Regions from separate parts of the Homo sapiens genome. Here region 2 is linked to region 1. The links are contacts of gene promoters, found by promoter capture Hi-C in blood cells and fetal thymus (Javierre and others, 2016). All regions are on one chromosome and are shown on one strand. Each heading gives the region's core, a stretch centred on a gene start or on the middle of the fragment in contact. The rest is flanking DNA. Distances are from core to core; before and after follow the strand shown.

Evidence for each region. The method cuts DNA at HindIII sites, captures the fragments that hold promoters and counts their contacts. A CHiCAGO score of 5 or more calls a contact.
Region 2: a fragment that was not itself captured here is called in contact with the fragment with the promoter of DIAPH2 in region 1 in 1 of 17 cell types (monocytes); the score reaches 5.4 in monocytes.

What each region holds. Positions count from the first base shown.
Region 1 is chrX:96,679,966-96,686,532 of GRCh38, reverse strand. It overlaps DIAPH2 (diaphanous related formin 2), which reads right to left and starts at 1,691. Exons shown (of 27, transcript NM_006729.5): 1 at 1,343-1,691. The coding sequence starts at 1,474. RefSeq lists enhancers at 474-1,187, 1,188-1,903. The HindIII fragment of the contact is 2,760 bases long and covers 1-2,500 here.
Region 2 is chrX:96,720,964-96,727,974 of GRCh38, reverse strand. The region is part of intron 1 of DIAPH2 (diaphanous related formin 2); the gene reads right to left. Among named protein-coding and RNA genes, the nearest start is that of DIAPH2, 40 kb to the right of the region's middle. The HindIII fragment of the contact is 711 bases long and covers 1,791-2,501 here.

The DNA of each region.
Region 1 (6,567 bases), core at 442-2,941:
AAATGATACGATCTCATAACTATCTAGTTACCTTGTCAAAGCAAGTAAAACATAAAAGATGAATCAGGACAAATGGCTAAAGGGAAGAGAAGAATATAATCAAGGTGTTACTACTAACAGAGATAAGTGTTTTTTTTTTTCTCGAAAGCATACTTCTTAAAAGTGGCAGATTCTTGCTAGACGTACCAAACCATTTGTGGAAACTATCAGTTAACTTTTTACTTAAATTTTTAATCACTGATTAAACCACAGTTTTGTACTGGATCCAAACCAAATGGCCAGATGCCATAAGAAACGGCTTTATTTATATGTCACCCTCTCCTTGTCTATTATAATCAAGTTGGTAGTTAAAGCTGAAATCTATACATTCAACATGTGGCTTGTGCTTCGGATCTGGACTAAGAATACAGCTCTAAGGAGTATCTGCTGAATTTGTACAGGAAAACCCTTTCCCCTCACACCACCCAAATTAGAAAGTTTACAAAAAGCGGAACCCTTCTGATGAGCTGAGGAAACTCCAGTATTTCCCAATGCAATACCAGGCCTCATCGATTTCATTCCTCTGCACATTCAGTGGCAGGAAATGGACTGCTACCATCGGTTCACACTATCAGCACGGTGAGATTTGCACAGTTTGTGCCTACTGCTTTTGAGCGTTCTTAATCAACTAAGTGGAAGTACTGTATGACTATGCCTATTACACACACTCGACAGTTGGTGGTACCTCACCCAGCCTCAAACTCCCACGCGCCCCCACCCTTCCAAAGAAACATTTCTTGGGAGAGCACATGGAGAGAGGCAAGGAGGAGGAAAAAGGCACGTAGGCGCCTCTTCCTGAGATTTCTGGTAAAGTAGAAAGACTGGGAGCATAAATAGTGTTCTTCTTGATTTGCGAAGCTGTAGGTGGGCTCCCAAGGACTTGGAATAAAAAGGAGGGAGGTTCCCCTGCCCCGGACCCTACGCGTTAGGAGGCAAAACAGCAACTAACAAGAAGTGGGAGGAGAATGGAATCGCGCAAAGGTTTGCGCCCACAAGTTAGACAAACAACAGCCCTACCCAGTACTCGGGGTGTCCCCAAGTTGGGGCTGGGCCTTTCTCCTTCCCGCACCGCCTCCCGGGCTGACAAGAGTGAGAAAGGGGTTAAGTAGAGAAGGGGGTGCTCTTCCGCCCCCACGCCGTCTCCGCGCCTCGGCGTGGCCACTCCTTTAGCGGCTCCCCGAGTTGCACAGCGAGGTCGCGGTCATCCTTGGGAGGGGGCCCCGGGTGCCCCCGTGTTCAATGGCAGGAGGATCCCGGGGCTCTCCCTGTCCCTAAGGCCGGCGGGGGCTGCGGGAGCACTCACCAATTTGGGTTTGTTTTTCGTTTCCTCTTCATTGGCGGCCCGGTTCCCCGCGCTCCGCTTGTTGCTCCGGCCCCCACCGGGTTCCTCGCTGCCGCCTCCCGCTCCCGACGCCGCCGCCCCGGGCTGCTCCATCTTTCTCCGGCCCTGTCACCTGTGCCCTGTAACCCCACCTCTCCTCAACTGAGAAAGCACCTCGGGGCGCTCACACTGCCCCGCGCTGACTCGGCGGCACCTCTTCCTGAGGGAGAGAGTGTCTGCCCGGGAAGCTGCCGATTTCAGGCCCCCGGGACTCCAGGCTCCCAGGCACCCCCGACGCAACCACGCCGTTGCCACTACTCGGCGCTGGGGCAAGCCCTGCCCCTGAGCAGTTGCAATTACCACGGTCGCCGCCGCCCTCAGGGCGGTGTTTAGGGTGGAGGGAAAAGTAGGTGCCTATCTCTTTAAGAGGGCCTCAACACACGTGATTCTTCAAAGTGCCCGCATCGGCCGCCCGGGCGCGCAAAGCTGCTTCCTACTCCCGCAGCCGAGCCGGCCCCAGCTACTGAGCATGCCCGGCGCGGTGACTGGAGCCTAACAGAGCACTTTCAGCTGCGGTTAGGCACTGATTTCACTTCCTAGTGGCCCAGCGAGAACAGGGAGGGAACTAGTCAAGAGAAAGGAAGGGTAGCCCATTTTAGAGATGGGGAAACTGAGGCCCGGGAAGATCCGCCTGTAAGTTTCACTGGCGGGTCAACCTGAGTATCAGCTTTCACTTCTGTGGGCCACAGCACCTTCCCTCCCTGAGGCCTCTCCGGGGGTGTGGTCCTGCTACAGTCTGTGGAAAGACTTGATTGGCAAGGGAACTGGCATCCTATAGGAAAACCACCGGGAGTGCTGATTAATTGCCTCGACAGACTGTGTGTGGGTCAGAGTGGAAAGAGTGAGTGCTTTCTGTTGTCGTGATTACGTTGTGACCGAAGAAATACAGTTGTTCCTTTATTCCCTTGCTGCAGGGTTGTTGAAGCAGCAGGCGCCCACCGCTTAATCCCTAGGGGATTGTTAGGTTCTATAACCAAAACACTTACATACAGCTAGCAATTGAATTGAGTGCTATTTTCAGGTTCCCGAACTAGTTTAGAGTTGTTGTGGGGAGTGAATAAGATCATGTGTGTCAAAGCTTTGTTGTAAATGAAAATCCCTAGACAAATGCTAGGTGTTTTTGTGCAGCAGCAGGGCACTGTTGGGACGATAGTCTTAAGTCCTTGCGTCATACCTAGCATTTTGTCCTCAGGACAAAATATAGTACCCACACTGTATTTCTTCCATCCTCTTTAAATGATGCCCTTTAAAAGTAAAGGTACACACTGAGAACATTAGACGGGGTGGGTAGGATTTGAATGAACCACCATCATAGAATAGGAGCACATATGCTAGGAAAGCTACCTATAAAGTAAATTTAAATATGAAATCTATAAACATGCCATACACCTATTACTGAAGATATCTCCAGACTATGACTCCTTTTGACCTTCTCCCCTTCGGCCTAAATTTAATATGCTGAATGGAATTTGTATCTGAACATATTTATTGAGAGTGCATTAGGATGCATTTGACCATGCTATAGGTGCAAGGAGACAGCTAACTTGGGCAGTAGAATGAAAAGAACACCAGATATCTGAAAACAGCTTTAATTCTAGCTTTGTCATTGTCATTAACTTTCTTTTTTTTTTAATTCTGAGACAGAGTTTCCCTCTTGTTGCCCAGGCTGGAGTGCAAAGGTGCAATCTCAGCTCACCGCAATCTCCACCTCCCGGGTTCAAGCGATTCTCCTGCCTCAGCCTCCCAAGTAGCTGGGATTACAGGGACCCACCACCACGCCCAGCTAATTCTGCATTTTTAGTAGAGATGGGGTTTCTCCGTGTTGGTCAGGCTGCTCTCAAACTCCTGAGCTTAGGTGATCCGCCTGCCTTGGCCTCCCAAAGAGCTGGGATTACAGGCGTGAGCCACCGTGCCCGGCTGACTTTCTTTTTAATCATGGAGGTGTGACTTCTCTACTCCTAAGGTGGCAAGCTACCAAAGGACAGCAGAGAAGAGGGAATACATGCTCCCAAACAGGGTGCTCAAGGAGCCCCATGGTAACTTTGCTTTGTTGAAGTTCCCGTTTTACTTACTTAAAGTTTAGTGTATATTTTGAATTCAACTCACTACATACACACACACACAAACACAATTTATATAAATGTCTCCTCTCCTGAAAAATTGAGTCAAAATGGGTGCTTCAGAAAGACATGACCTGTTTAGCCAATGCGTAATTCCTGTTTGTGCCATAGGTGTGGTCCATAGCTGAGGGCCCTCCAAGCGCAAACATGGTTCAGTAATCTGCCCAGTAGACATTTCTTCAGCTCCTTAGAGTACACTAGGTGATACAGAGTGTCATGAGTAAGAAGGATGAAGATGACACAGTTTCCGCCTTTTAGAACTTCAGAGCCTACTGGGAGAGACAGACCATTAAAGAACTGCACTGCACTATAACAGATATGAACAGGAAGCCTTTGAAGCACATGAAAGAGGTAACTATCGGAGTGTCAGAGGCTCAGGGACACCTTCCCAAAGAAGATGATGTTTGAGCTGAGTCTTAAGGGTCTGATTCAAGTTAACATTTGTTGGCAGCCTACTAAGTGTGAGGTACTGTGCAAGGCATCATGAGTACAGTGGTGAACAAGACAGACATGGTTTGGTCTTAGGGAGCTTTCATGCTATCGGGAAAGATATATATAGTTTCACTCTTATTGCCCAGGCTAGAGTGCAATGGCGCAATCTCAGCTCACGGCAACCTCCGCCTCCCAGGTTCAAGCGATTCTCCTGCCTCAGCCTCCCGAGTAGCTGGGATTACAGGCATGTGCCACCACGCCTGGCTAATTTTGTATTTTTAGTACAGATTGGGTTTCTCCATATTGGTCAGGCTGGTCTCAAACTCCCGAACTCAGGTGATCCGACTGCCTTGGCCTCCCAAAGTGCTGGGATTACAGGCATGAGCCACTGCGCCCAACCTTGGGAAAGATATTAAAAATGTATTAAGCAATTACAAGGCAAATAAGGACAGTGAAGGGCATTCAGGCAAAGGAAATGACAATAGCATGTGCAGAAGCCCTGTGGTTAAGAAATTGGTGGGGAGCTGGGGAGACTGTTGGCAGGAGAAGCAGCAGAACAGATAAGGAGTTTCCAGATTGAAGCCCCCTACTTAATAAGTTTCATTACTGTTGTTTAAAAAGTGGAAGGGGGTCAGGCACGGTGGCTCACGCCTGTAATCCCAGCACTTTGGGAGGCTGAGGTGGGTGGATCACCTGAGGTCAGGAGTTCGAGACCAGCCTGGCCAACATGGAAAAACCCAGTCCCTACTGAAAATACAAAAATTAGCAGGGCATGGTGGCAGGTGCCTGTAATCCCAGCTACTCAGGAGGCTTGAGGCAGGAGAATGGCTTGAACCCGGGAGGCAGAGGTTGCAGTGAGCCGAGATCATGCCACTGCACTCCAGCCTGGGTGACAGAGCGAGGCTCTGTCTCCATAAAAATAAAAACTAAAAAGTGGAAAAGCAGAATAAGGAGGCCATTGTAATATGAATTACTTCTGTTTAGAACGTATAAATAGACTTGAAAATGTATTGATATTATTTTGAATGTAAGGTTGGGTTTCATCATCCTCAGGCCAGGTTAATCTGCATGTCATATCCAGTTAGAAGTACATGTAAAAGATTGATAATCTTTTCTGCAAAAAATGAAAGTTTGTCCCTGATATGTCTTACATTTGACTTTATTGTGGTTATTTTGGCCCGTCTTAATTCTTGATGTTTTTTTCAGCATTTTGCTCTAGTTAATGTAAACAGTGGTTTAAAAACAAGCAAAAACCTTTCCTTCAGGCTTCAGGGTCATTGGCCTGGCAGAAACTAACACAGGAAAGGAGCCACTGCTCTCGGTAAGGACTCTTTGTCCACTGATTATGAACCAAGCACCTCACCAATTGTGGTCCTACAGCAGATCTCTCTGCATCTGTAATCCTTTATTTTTACCCTCCTGGGTCACACAAATAGGTTGGTGGATGGAACATCTCTTCTCTGATGCTGAAGAAAGAAGGAGGCTACCACCATCAATTGGGATATCAAAACTTAAATGTATGTTAGAACCACTGACCTTGTGGTCTCTCCCTCTGGACTCTCATGAATGTAGCACCCAATCAGCATTTAAAAGCCAGTCCTGGGGGAGACCAATAAAAGGCTACTGGGTTCTGTCTTCAAACTGACCTTAGAGCCATCTATTACCCCTGAGGATTTCTGACCATCCTGATAGTACCCCTCTGAGTTTCTATGTCTCCCGTCTACAGTGTATTCTCATCTGAACAGTCTGTGTCGTTCATAGATGAAACATGGATTTGAAAAAAATGAGAACCACCTCCAAGGTCACAGCAAAATGTTTATGCATTAAAGGATTCCTAAGAATAAGCAGGTATTTACCAGGTATTAAGCAGGTATACTACATGGTTAACACCAAACTAGATGTCCTGCAGATGTTTCTAAAAAATGCCAGATATTCTACTATAATGTCATATTGTCTTTACTGAAGAATCTCCTGTTTTGCAGAATTGCACACCTAAAATAGCAGGGCTTACTGGGAAAATATGGTTAGGAAAGACCACTTAAATCCAATGCAACTTTATAGTCAGAGCACTAATGAAAACAACCATCCTAATAAAAACCACAGATAAATCTCCACTGGCCTTTGCCCCCAGCATCACAGTCATCAATGCTTGGTAGCCTTTATGCTTCCTCCTTCCTGATGTGGATCCTCAAGGGCATTCACTTTTAATAGATGCCATTTTCATCAGAATTAAAAATCTAATTGAGGAGTAGTCAGCTTTTTAAAAACACATGGTGAAAGGTCGTCACAGCTTCATTAGCACGGGACTCACAGCTTCACCAGATAGTTTAATGTTGTTGAAAACTTAGAGGTTGTAGCCACTAAACCAGTCACTACTTATACTGAAGGCAGAGCTTTGTGCAGGATTCTTCACTTTTTCTTAAAAGTCTTCATATATTGCTAAGACTTCTTATTTGTGAGAAAGTTTGTTTCTGATCACTTCAAAACAAAGTGCTGGCTACGCACAGTGGCTCATGCCTGTAATCCCAACACTTTGGGAAGCCAAGACAGGAGGATCACTTGAGCTCAGGTTTGAAACGAGCCTGGGCAACGTAG
Region 2 (7,011 bases), core at 897-3,396, 41 kb before region 1:
CCTCCCGGATTCAAGCAATTCCCTGCCTCAGCCTCCCGAGTAGCTTGGATACAGGTGCCCGCCATCATGCCCGGCTAATTTTTGTATTTTTAGTAGAGATCAGGTTTCATCATCTTGGCCAGGCTGGTCTCGAACTTCTGACCTCGTGATCCATCCACCTCAGCCTCCCAAAGTGCTGGGATTACAGGTTGTCTTCTACTTTCTAGAAAACAAGTTCCCTAACAGTAGAGACCTTAACTGTCTTATTCACTTTCAGATCTCTGACACTTAGAACAGTAGCTGGCACATAATATCTGCTCAAATACTGTTAAATAAATTCATTTAAGCACAATAAGAATTCAGAGAAGAAATAGATAAATATAGCTTCATTGAGAAACTACAAAGAATTGTGGCCTAATTGTTGGGTAGGGATCTGAAGAGCCACAAAGAGAGAAAGAGAGGGAAGTCAGACAAAAGGAGCAGCATTAACATTTTACTTCAGGGAAGTTGAAGAGAACAGACTTATGAAACAAATGGTTCAAGTACAAGGGTATTAAATTTTGAATATGTAGGGTGGATTAGAGGCAGTCTTGAAAACCACAAGGAATAGTCAAAACTAAACTGGAAAACCACTAGGCGTTCTTATGATTTTCTGATTTGAAGACAGACATGGAGAAAATGGTATTTTAGAAAGCTGACTTTGGGTTGGCACACGTGTACAATCTTTTATTTGAAACCTTTCAAGCCAAACACGTCTTGGAACTCAGCATGTTTCATGTTTTAGAAAGGAATATGCTAGGTGTATCATATCTTACAAAACACACTAAGCAGGATCTGGGGTAACACATTAACTCAAATGTATTCAAGTTTAAAAGGAAAACATGGATATTTCACAAAACAGGATAAATAAAGAGTACCTATACGGCCTTAAGAAGGTTGGGGCTTGTGGCCAAATGATAAGAGTGTTTTCAGAGCATTCATATTTCAGAATTTCAGAAAAGGGTTATGGACCTGTAATATTGAGAATAAACTAAAGAAGGAATCAAAGGCTAAAAAGGCGGCTTGCAGAGATCAGCAAGTTTGGTCTATTCTACCTAACTAATAGCTACCATTTACTGAGCATTTATAGGCACTATGCTAAGAGCTTTACAGGCATTGCCTTGTTTAAATCCTCACAATAATCCTATGTACAAGAAGGTACTGTCTTGTTTTACTCATCAGGAAATCAAGGTTTACAGTCATTAAGTCATTTGCCTAAATCACAAAGATAATAAATTACACAGTCCAGATTAGCATTCAGGTCTGACTAGAACACACACTCTAGAACATCTATCTATATTCTGAAATCTGTGTGCAACAGTCTTCATCAGTATAACAATACTGGTTAGAGCTCCAGCTCTTTTTCAGTCTCGGCCTTTCCAGGTGCTCTTTGCTCTGCTTACAGCACCCGCTCCATCCCACCTCACCTCTTTCTTAATCATCTAGCCATCTTCTACTCAACTGTTCTGCTCTCAGCTAAGGATACAGTTGATCCTGTTATAGTCTCCCATGGTTCCTTCTGCAACACATTCCACGTATCAAATCCTAATTACCTATCAATATCAGTCTTCTGTGCAATACTGTAAACTCAATGTAGTAAGGACCAGGTTTTTCTCGATTCCCACTGTGTCCTCAGGTTTTTGCACTATTTCTAGCACATAGTAAGTACTCAAACCTGTGATGATTGACAGAATTGGGGCTGGGGGAGGAGAGAGACAGAGGAAGAGAGCGACAGAGAGAGAATGTGATCCAGTTGCAAGATGATAAAAGCTTAGCCTAGGATGGGAGCAATATAAATAGATAAGGCAGTTAGTATATATAATTTTGTTTAAAATAACGCTTGTTATTGAAGCAATGTACCCAGACATATGATTGCTGTTTGTATTAAATAGAGTAATTTAAATATCTGTTGTTATGATTACTATCTTTATAATGCAAAAATAACCTCTAAATGGCTATGATTATCACTCTGGAGATACTTCACCTCACAATGACTTGCTATCTGTCTACTTCAAGCAGCTTTTACAAATAACCACATCATTTAGTTTTCTGATGTAGTTGCAAAATTAATCTGACAAAACAAAATGATTCACTGCTTTAAAAATTCAAGAGTATAAATTGCCAAAAACTGAAAATTATACCTGAGTTGTGAATAAGGTATTATTATATTTTTTGTAGGAAAAAATACATAAAAGTCATACAGTGATTTAAGTTAACTTCACTATTAGTACTTTTAACTGATGGTCTTGAATTTGCAAACAATCCCCAATTCAGGAATGGGCCATGTCTCAAAATTCACTTGTATAGCAGTTGTTTAGCTCTTGGAACACATGTATCCAAAGGCGTTAACCCATAAGAAATCATTTCCAGAGTGAAAGCAGACAAACTTCTCTACATGGAAAACAAAAACAGCTCATTTACTCACACAGGAAGAACTTTAAAAATCACTAAATATTATATCAAATATTTAAAACGTAGAAGCTTAAACAGAATGTGATTATATGGTGAACAAAAAATAATTTTCAGAAAATTTAAAAAGTGTTTTTGGAAAAATTTAATATTATAAATTACTCAATTTTATAAACTTCATTTTTCCCCCAATGGGCTTCAGATTCTATGCTGAGTAGTGATAACTGAAAAAACCTTTTGTCTCATAATGTTCCTTAAATAGTTTTTTACTTAGTTTTAATTTGGATAAGAGATTCTTTCTCAACATAGTGACAGAAATTGTCAAAATAATAAATAACACATTGTAGGAAAATATCATTTATGTCACTGTGTTTTACAAATAATATCACAATGAATTAACAGGTAGTTTTAATTTTTTTACTTTTTATGATTTGGGGCAAAGCAACACTTGTATCTGTTTATGCTGATAGATCTCAAATTTCTCCTACTCTGTTGTGTTTCTCACGACGGACTCTTCGCTGTATTTAAATAATTGAAGTGGAGTAAGAGCTGCAAATAAATCAGCAACTATACTTAGCCCCTGAAGCCTCTTAAGTATTAATCACTGATCAGTTGCAATATAAAAAAGATGAGCTGTATGTCCCTTTGCCTGAAAACTCACAAGCAACCCAAGCACTAACCCTTATAATGACCCTTATACATACACAGGTCAAAGCAAATTATTCAGATTTTTATTTTCTCTTTTAATTAATATTATGAATCACAGAGATTTTTAAGTCTAAAGATTTTGATGTAGAAAACATTTTTTTCCTTTTCATCTGGATGTTAAGACAACAGTGATGTATTTTATATAATCAATATATAGATCACGGTTTGCATAAACCCATTAAATATGAAGTGGCTGTTAACCTTGCCTACAACTCTTTGACTTTGCTGATGCCAACAAAGGCTTCAAACCAGCAAAATCAAGCCCTTTCATAGGGGCTCCTGAAAACCACTGACAGATACATATTATATTTCTGCACATAAGACTCCAGCCATGTCAAATCTGCCAATAACACTCAGTGTGTATGAGACGTCTTCTTTGAAAACAGAGAAAGTCTGAATTATGAGGATAAATTTGAGATGGTCTAAACTTATTTTAATAGCATTCATTCAAGTTTCTATTTTCCTCACTGCTGCGTAATTTGGTTTTATAACAGTTTGGCCAATTAGGGACTGGGTAGGTTGAAATTAAATGTTACTATGAAGCTGACAGAATGATTTACAGTCAGTAGATCACTGAAAAACAAATAAAGATACGCTTAAAAATTTATAGAATTAGCCAAGCGTGGTGGCTCACGCCTGTAATCCCGACACTTTGGAAGGCGGAGGCGGGCGGATCACTTGAGGTCAGGAGTTCAAGACCAGCCTGACCAACATAGTGAAACCCCGTCTCTGCTAAAAATACAAAAAAATTAGCCATGCGTGGTGGTGGGCGCCTGTAATCCAAGCTACTTGGGAGGCCGAGGCAGGAGAATCACTTAAACCCAGGAGGCAGTGGTTGCAGTGAGCCGAGATCGCACCACTGCACTCCAGCCCGGGCAACAGAATGAGACTCAGTCTCAAAAAAAAAAAAAAAAAAAAAAAAATTATAGAATCACTCTTATGGGGTTACCATAAGTTCTGGCCCCACATTACTGTGTCAGTACCATAATCATAGCCAAGTTTTTTACAAAATTCCTAAATTAACTTCTCTTCAATTACCATTCTATTTGCTAATAATGTTAAACTTATTTTCAACAAAATTACCTATTTAGTAGCCATAATCAATACTACTGAAGTTTTCTACATACATGGGCCCTTCGTAGCCCTGATGAAACATATGGAGTTAGTTCTGCGACTACATTTTCTTACAGAAACAAAGTTCTCAATGATGGTTGAATTCGCAAATCAGCTTTAAAAAACCTTATTAAAATCCTATAAAAATCTATAATACACCTTCAGAGTCACACTGGTAGTAAGTAGTATTCCAACTCCATTCTCCTTTGAAACAGTTTCTGTAGAAAATACCCATTCTAACACGAGGTGTAAAAAACTTGATTTTTCCTTTCTATAGGCAGGACTGGCTATACCAGTGATGGTACATAAAGGGACAGAAGAGAGACAGCCACTTATTTCAACATAAGACTTCAGAGAGTAACCACAGAAGACATGATTACAGATCAAGCTTCTTAGGTGTCTTAATTGGGAAACAAGGGGCAATTTATTCCTTCTATTTAAAAAAATTATCCTGGCATCTAAATTCCCTCATAAACACTGCCTCTAGAGTACTTACAGTGAATTTGTTCAAGAACTTAAGTCAAACTTGACCCACCAGGTTAAAAGGTCTCTTCATTTTCAGGTATTCACTGAGCTCTGAGTATCCCAAATTTCATGAACTATACACAAGCACCCACCTACTTGAGCTTTAAACAGTGATCACTTTTTTTAGGAAGGAACTAGAATGGCTTCTTCCCCTCTCCATTAATAGCATAAGAGAATGTGCTAAGACTGGCATTTTCTTTCACATGAAATGCAGAAATGAGACTGTATGTAGACTCAAAGCTACAAACATAACTGAATATGAACACGTAACCCACAGATATTGAAAGGGTGACACAGTTTTAAAACTTAAAAGTTATGATGCAATGTCAGTCGCCAGTAGCCAACAATGTAGAGTGCTTCCTGAGCTACAATATGCTTGAAAAAACCTGGAAACACCACAAAAGTGGAATTTTTTATTACTCCCAAGGTCTTAGTTCAAACTTTGATTTTAGCATTTATCATAGTGCGATAATTTCTCACTAGAATGTATGAATTTCCTAAGGCAGGAGGTGGGTCTTATATAGTTTTGTATATATTACATAAATGGGTTAAAGATGGCCTCTGTATATTGGCCTTATGTTGTTTACTTCTTCACAGCAGCATAAGACCCATTAGCTCAAAGCCCACCTCAAATTGCTACATATCCAATTATTTTAAATGTAGCCCAAACAAACCAATTTTTAGCCATTAGAGCCTGCCTGGTTTGCCTACACTGCTGCAGCTAGACAGCAACAAGTCAAGGAAATACAGTAGAGGAAGGGAAGGAAACAGGGACAAGGGAAGAGAGAAAGAGGAGAGAAGGAGGGAACGAATGAATGAATGAGAGTCTCTCTTTTTTTTTTTCTAAGACGGAGTCTCGCTCTGCTGCCCAGGTTGGAGTGCAGTGGTGCAATCTCAACTCACTGCAACCTCCACCTCCCAGGTTCAAGCAATTCTCCTGCCTCAGCCTCCCAAGTAGCTGAGATCACAGGCGCCCACCACCACGCCCGGCTAATTTTTTGTACTTTTAGTAGAGACAGGCTTTCACCATGTTGGCCAGACTGGTCTCAAACTCCTGACCCCAGGTGATCCGCCCTCCTTGGCCTCCCAAAGTGCTGGGATTACAGGCATGAGCCACTGTGCCCGGCCAAGAGTCTCTTTAAATGCCAAATTGTAGACATGAATACCTAAAAGGAAATTGTTAATTTATAATTTGTATATTAAAAAGAAAAAAGAAAAGCTAGACCTAAAGAGAGAGCATCACTACTATTAGTACTACTATTTATGATTCACTGAGCACCTTCTATGTGCCAGGCATTGTTTTTAGTTCTCTGATTTAATTAATTCCTAAAACAAACCTGTAATGTAGCTATTATTATTATTCCCGTTTTTCTGATTAGGAAACCAAGGCATACTGAGGTAAAAACAGAACCATATAATGTTCTCTGTCCTGTATGCAGCATCATGGTTCCAGCAGCAAATACACCTTCACAAGGTAAACAGCAAACAGAGTACTATGGTATGATGCATGACCCATCATAGTAGAGGGAAGCACCTCAACATATTCAATAGTTCCCTTGGCTGAAAACCACTGAAACTGTTTGACCTGACATGTTAGATCATTTACATAGTTTACTTTCAGAATTTGAGCAAGGGCTATGGAGCACAAAGGTCATGTGTCTCCTAGATCACTTTACATAAACTTAGCTTGTGTATAAAGCTGTTAAATTTATTTTCAAACACAGGCTTTGTGTTCATTAGTCAGCACTTGACTAGCCAACTGTAAAATATAAAACAGTCAGTAAGCAACAAATGCACTCTCATGAGCATATACCAGAAGATTTTCCCATGGTATTTGCATTTTAAAACTATAGAAGGACAATGACATGAAATAAATGTTAATGATCTCTGCAAAGTGAATTTTCAGTTTGGATTTGCATTAAAAATATTTATCCTATTTATTTAAATTACATGACAAGAAGATTAGATACACCCATAATACATAATAAATCTTTAAACAAACATAAAAACTTCCCAGTTTCTGCTTTCTTCTACCTAATTTTAGTTCCAGCAACATGCAAAATGAGTATATTAACTTAATCCCTCAGGTACTTGATGATTTCAAGATAAACTCTGGAGACAGCCAACAGCAAAAAAATTCATTTTCTTTGACCTAGCTTGGTCAAACAGAAGCTTCCCTCCAGTTCCAGTAAGAAGGTAGAACCACAGGCCTAAGAGTCCTACTGAATGGAATCAGGA